Linked DNA regions of Homo sapiens: region 1 is linked to region 2. The links are contacts of gene promoters, found by promoter capture Hi-C in human tissues and cell types (Jung and others, 2019). All regions are on one chromosome and are shown on one strand. The core of a region is centred on a gene start or on the middle of the fragment in contact, and the rest is flanking DNA. Distances in the headings are between cores, read along the strand shown.

Region 1 (3,137 bases), core at 4-2,503, 160 kb before region 2:
ATTTCCGCCTCCTGGGTTCAAGCAATTCTGCCTCAGCCTCCTGAGTAGCTGGGATTATAGCCATCCGCCACCATACCCAGCTAATTTTTGTATTTTTAGTGGAGACGGGGTTTCACCATGTTGGCCAGGCTGGTCTCAAACTCAAACTCCTGACCTCAAGTGATCCACCTGCCTCGGCCTCCCAGAATGCTGGGATTACAGGTGTGAGCCACTGCGCCTGGCCGTCATCTTGGTCTTTTGACAGTGAAGCAAACTAAGGCTTGGGGGGGCAGGCAGTCACTTGCCCAAGGCCATGCTAGAGTGAGTAGCAGAGCCAGAAGCTAGGCATGTGATGAGGTTTTGCCATGTTGCCCAGGCTGGTCTTGAACTCCTGAGCTCAAGTGATCTGCCTGCCTTGGCCTCCGAAAGTGCTGGGATTACGGGTGTGAGCCACCGCGCCCAGCCGGCATGTGACTTTTATAGCAGGGCACACACATACTGCAAACATGGGCATCTGCCCGTCAGAGCGTAACTCATGCAAACGCTAGGTCCCTACCCCCACTCCCCAACCTCGGTCCCTGGGATGATCCCAGAGGGCACAAGAAAGATCCTGGAAAGAATTCAGTCCCTGGGAGTTATTTTTAGATGCAGAGGTATCCATTTCTGCAAAACATGGGTGCCTCACCCGACCTGGCCTCTGCACAGGCCACCAGCTGCTCTGAGGGATTAACTCTCAGCCAGTTGTGTTTTAAATAGACCCTAGGAGAGGAGCTGAAGCATTTTACCTCATACCCTAGGACCTTGGTCAATGGTAAGACGTAGGACAACCTTGAGAGCAGGGAGAAGCTGCATTTTGGGCTCATAACTCCAGGGTGAGGTTAGAGGAGGGAAAAGCTCATTCCAGTCCTCATCAGGAGTTAGACAAAGAAGCAACGTTCTACTTTGTTTTTTAAAAAAAGAGATGTGGAGAGAAAAAAGTGGCTTGTTCAAGATCACATTGTTAGTTGGTGGGGATAGCGAGGAGAGGGGCAAGTGTATTGATTACTTACTCTAAAACAGGGATGTCCAATCTTTTGGCTTCCCTGGGCCATGTTTGATGAAGAATTATCTTGGGCCTCACATAAAATACACTCACACTAACGATAGCTGATGAGCTTAAAAAAAAATCACAAAAAAACCTCATTTTTTTTTTTTTTTTTTTTGAGGCAGAGTCTTGCTCTGTGGCCCAGGCTGGAGTGCAGTGGTGTGACCTTGGCTCACTGCAACCTCCACCTCCTGAATTCAAGTGATTCTCATGTCTCAGCTTCCCAAGTAGCTGAGATTACAGGCGCATGCCACCACGCCCGGCTACTTTTTGTATTTTTAGTAGAGATGGGGGTTTCACCATGTTGGCTAGGCTGGTCTCGAACTCCTGACCTCAAGTGATCCACCTGCCTTGGCCTCCCAAAGTGTTGAGATTACAGGTGTGAGCCACTGAGCCCGGCCATAAGTGTATCATTTTGCAGCCCAACCTTTTCACTCAGCAGTAAGCTTATGGGACTTGTCTTTGTTGATACATCTAAAACAGAGATTCTCAACCAGAAGGGATTCTGTTCCCAAAGGATAAATTTGGCAATATCTGGAGACATTCTTGGTTGTCACAGCTGTGTGGTGCCACTGTCATCTAGTGGGTGGAAGCCAGGGATGCTGCTTAACATGCTATAATGCACAGAATGCCCCCATAGCAAAAAATGATCTGATCCCAAATGTCAACAGAGCTGAGGTTGAAAAACCCTGATCAAGGTCTAGTTCACTTTTCTTTTTCTTTTTGTTTGTTTGTTTGTTTGTTTGTTTCTGAGATGGAGCCTCCCTCTGTCGCCCAGGCTGGAGTGCAGTGGCGCAATCTTGGCTCACTGCAACCTCCACCTCCCGGGTTCAAGCGATTCTCCTACCTCAGCCCCCTGAGTAGCTGGGATTACAGGCACCTGCCACCATGCCTGGCTAATTTTTGTATTTTTAGTAAAGACAGCGTTTCACCATGTCGGCCAGGCTGGTCTCAAACTCCTGACCTCAAGTGATCCGCCTGCCTTGGCCTCCCAAAGTGCTGGGTGAGCCACTGCACCCAGCCTGGTTCACTTTTAAATAGCTACTCTATGGCACTCCACATTTTGTGGCTTCCCACAGCTTTACTAAGAGACTGTTGATTTCACTTTTCTCCTGTTGCAACATTGTATCAGTGAAACATCTTCCTTCTCTAAGTCTTTGTTTATGGTGCTTGTTTCTTTGGGGTTAATAGCAAGGAGTGGAATTGCTGGGGTCCAGGGGATGCACAGCTTCATATTTCCCTGGTATTGCCAAGTTGCCTCTAACATGGTAATGCCCACTGATGCGCTCACCTGGATTTGTAGGAGAAACTCTGGCATTGATGATTATTTCCCCCTGTGAGGTTGACCAAGCTAAGAAGAACGTAATTCCTTTTACAGAGTAGAGTGCACTACACCTTTCTCAATTAATAAATGGAACAGAGAAGGTCATTGTTGTTACAATGTCACCAGAAATGCGCAGGCCTGCTGGTGGCTCACACCTGAAATCCCAGCACTTTGGGAGGCCAAGGCAGGAGGATCATTTGAAGCCAGGAGTTCAAGAGCAGCCTGGGCCACACAGTGAGATCCTATCTTTACAAAAAAAGAAAAAAAAAAAAGTATAAAAATTGGCCAGGCATGGTGGCACACGTCTGTACTCCTAGCTACTTGGAAGGCTCAAGCCCAGGAGTTTGAGGCTGCAGTGAGCTATGATTGCATCACTGCACTCCAGCCTGGGTGACAGAGCGAGATGCTGTCTCTTAAAAAAAGTGTCCAGGGCCAGGCGCTGTGGTTCATGCCTGTAATCCCAGCACTTTGGGAGGCCAAGGTGGGTGGATCACCTGAGGTCAGGAGTTCGAGACCAGTTTGGCCAACTTGGAGAAACCCCCTGTCTACTAAAACTACAAAACTTAGCTAGGCGTGGTGGCAGGTGCCTGTAATCCCAGCTACTTGGGAGGCTGAGGCAGGAGAATCACTTGAACCTAGGAGGAGGCGGAGATTGCAGTGAGCCGAGATCACACCACTGCACTCCAGCCTGGGCGACAGAGCAAAACTCTTGTCTCCAAAAAAAAAAAAAAAAAAAGTTGGGGGGATCCA
Region 2 (3,243 bases), core at 583-3,082:
AATGGTGAGTGCCAATGCTTGGGACCAGGAAGCAGCCAGGTTGGTCAGGCAATTGTGTGAAGTTCTGCACAGAGGCAGGCAGTTTGCTTGGAAAATCCTGCAGGAAAAGGTTCCTAAGGACCAATTCTGACAGCCTGCAATGTAGGTGCTTAGATTTCATCTCATTAGAAATAGGAAGACCTTGGAGGTTTGGAAGGAGTGGTGGAAAAAGTGGAGTTTTTTGTTTTTCTGTTTTTTTTTTTTTAAGAGATGAGATGCTCTTTAAAAAAAAAAAAAAAAAAAAGCACTGCTATGCTTCCCAGGCTGGGGTGTGCAGTGGCAAGATCATGGCTCACTGCAGCCTTGAACTCTTGGGCATGAGCAATCCTGCCTCAGCCTCCCGAGTAGCTGGGACTAAACGTGTGCACCACCACGCCCAGCTAATTTTTTCATTTTATTTTATTATTTAATTAATTAATTAATTAATTTTTTGAGACAGAGTTTTTGCTCTTGTTGCCCAGGCTGGAGTGCAATGGCGTGATCTTGGCTCACTGCAACCTCCGCCTCCCGGGTTCAAGCAATTCTCTTGCCTCAGCCTCCCGAGTAGCTGGGATTACAGGCATGCGCCACAAAGCCCGGCTAATTTTGTATTTTTAGTAGAGACGGGGTTTCTCCATGTTGGTCAGGCTAATCTCCAACTCCAGACCTCAGGTGATCTGCCCGCCTCGGCGTCCCAAAGTGCTGGGATTACAGGCGTGAGCCACGGCGCCCAGCCAATTTTTTCATTTTCTTTTTCTTTTTTTCAAGGCCCGGCTAATTTTTTGTATTTTTAGTAGAGACGGGGTTGCACCGTGTTAGCCAGGATGGTCTCTATCTCCTGACCTCGTGATCCGTCCGCCTCGGCCTCCCAAAGTGCTGGGATTACAGGCGTGAGCCACCATCCCCAGCCTAGAGTTCTTGATAGTATCAGGGCTGAGAAAGTACCAGAGTTAGAGCCAGGTGGGGTGGCACTAAAAGTACAAAAAATTAGCAGGGCGCAGTGGCGGGCGCCTGTAGTCCCAGCTACTCAGGAGGCTGAGGCAGGAGAATGGTGTGAACTCGGGAGGCGGAGCTTGCAGTGAGCGGAAATCGCGCCACTGCACTCCAGCCTGGGCGACAGAGCGAGACTCTGTCTCAAAAAAAAAAAAAAAAAAAAAAAAAAAAAAAGAAAGTACCAGAGTTAGGAGGCTCCTAAACTGGTCCAGATGGGAAGTGACGGGGCCAAGGATAGGGAAGTGAAGATGGGAGGAGTAGGACTAACTTAAAGGCCATTTAGCAAAAATTCACCACGCAAGGCCCTATATTAGGGCGCTGGGGGCTCATACCTCATCGTCCCGTCAACTCTATAAAGCAGGGGCCAACAAACTTTTTCCATAAAAGGCCAGATCGTAAATACTTCAGGGTCTGCAGATCTGTAGGATCTTTAGCAACTACCTACTCTGTTGTAAGGCGAAAGCAGGCAGAGAAGCCAGGTAAACGCGTGGGCGTGTCTGTGTGCTAATAAAACTTTATTCAGGGACCCTCAAATGTGAATTTCACAAACTTTTCACAGGTCATAGACTATTCTTCTTTGGATTTTTCCCCCGGCTATGTAAACATGTAAAAATAATTCTGAGCTTGCGGGGCCGGACAAAGTAGGCGGCGGGTCTTGGCTCGCCTACCCCTGCTATATAAATCATTAATTATGATACCAATCTTAAGGAGAAGGTCTTCAGAAGAGTCCCTCAAAGAGCACCGCCCCTCAACGTCATCAAACCCCGCCTCCAAAGGCGGAGGCTGCGCATGCGCGGCAGGACCTCGGGCGGGGGCGGGGCGGGGCGCAGCTCCGACTTCGGACATGGCGCACGCTGGCGGTGGCAGCGGTGGCAGCGGTGCCGGCGGCCCCGCGGGCCGGGGGCTGAGCGGCGCCCGCTGGGGTCGCTCGGGCTCCGCAGGCCACGAGAAGCTGCCGGTGCACGTGAGTGGCGTCCCCGCCCTCCCTCGGGGAACCCATCTTCTGGACCCCGCGGGCGGGCGCCCCTCACCCAGGCCCCGCCCGGCCCCAGCCCCACCTCGGCCTCCCCTCTGCACTGCCCCGGACCCCTCACCCCTCACCTCTCACCTCGGCCCTCCGAAAGCCCAGCCCATCCCCTTCCCCTCAGGGACCCCGGCCCCTCGTCCCCTCGTTCCGCGGCCAGGGCCCACCGGGACCCTCCCCCTCTCTGCAGGTAGAAGACGCCCTCACCTATCTGGACCAGGTGAAGATCCGCTTTGGCAGCGACCCTGCCACCTACAACGGCTTCCTGGAGATCATGAAGGAGTTCAAAAGCCAGAGGTACCAGCGGGGCCCCTCTCCACCTCAGGGGACCCCCCTGGGCCGGAATCGGGCCTAGCGGGGTGAGACCTCCCCTCTCCAGCCTGCCCCCTTAGCCGGGTGACCTTGCGCAGGTTGTCCAATCTCTCAGAGCCCTAGCTCCTTCTCGTAACAAAAATGGAAATGGGTAGTACCCACCTTGTGGAGCTTTGTGGGGATTCCTGGAAGCAGGACAGGGATCTGGGGGGAGGCAGGGAGGGCGAGGCCGTGCACACTCATAGAGTCAAATCCTGCCTTGATTTAATATGTTGATTTTTATATTAGTTTTGTTCATGAAAGATTTGGTGGGACCCATTTTGATTTTTATTTTCAAGCGCTGTAAAATGTTATTGTCTTGATGATTGAAATTTTTGGCACCCTCTTCCCCTTTAATCTTGTCCTCAAGATGCTTCTCTGGGCTCACTGTGGTCCCAGGCCTGCTTGGAAGTAAGACGCATAAAATGCTTAGTAAGGGAGCTGGCACACAGAAAACGTTTAAAACACATGAGATGATTTTGCAGGCCCAGAATCAAGGAAGATTACAGATAGATGGGAAACCCTGGGATCATGCCCTTGTTTTTATAGGAGACTCACTGAGGTTTGGAGTGGGTAAGGGACCCACCTAAGTGGCAGAGGTGTCACTAGAACTCAGACCCTCTGACTCAGATTCTTGGAAGTCACATGCTTACCATACTGCTGCCCCCTCTTAGGAAACATGGTGGGGCTGGCCTGGTTTCCTTCCGGGAGCCCAGTGCTAAGGGCTGGGCTGCAATGCAGCCAGAAGGGAGACCCCATCTCTCCCCTCCTATTTTTCTTACACCTTTCCCATTCTTGGCAGTACCATTGGTATTTATGCATTGCAATTGTTTGCTCAGATGGAAACCTGTGTCATA

The links. The method cuts DNA at HindIII sites, captures the fragments that hold promoters and counts their contacts. A contact is called where the count stands out against the background at its distance.
Region 1: a fragment that was not itself captured here is called in contact with the fragment with the promoter of SIN3B in region 2 in 1 of the 25 tissues and cell types used here (dorsolateral prefrontal cortex).

What each region holds. Positions count from the first base shown.
Region 1 is chr19:16,671,286-16,674,422 of GRCh38, forward strand. All of the region lies in intron 1 of TMEM38A (transmembrane protein 38A), which reads left to right. Among named protein-coding and RNA genes, the nearest start is that of TMEM38A, 12 kb to the left of the region's middle. The HindIII fragment of the contact is 5,585 bases long and covers 1-3,137 here.
Region 2 is chr19:16,827,566-16,830,808 of GRCh38, forward strand. It overlaps SIN3B (SIN3 transcription regulator family member B), which reads left to right and starts at 1,833. Exons shown (of 19, transcript NM_001297595.2): 1 at 1,833-1,975; 2 at 2,226-2,332. The coding sequence starts at 1,856. RefSeq lists an enhancer at 1,559-2,060 and a silencer at 1,801-1,980. The HindIII fragment of the contact is 27,079 bases long and covers 1-3,243 here.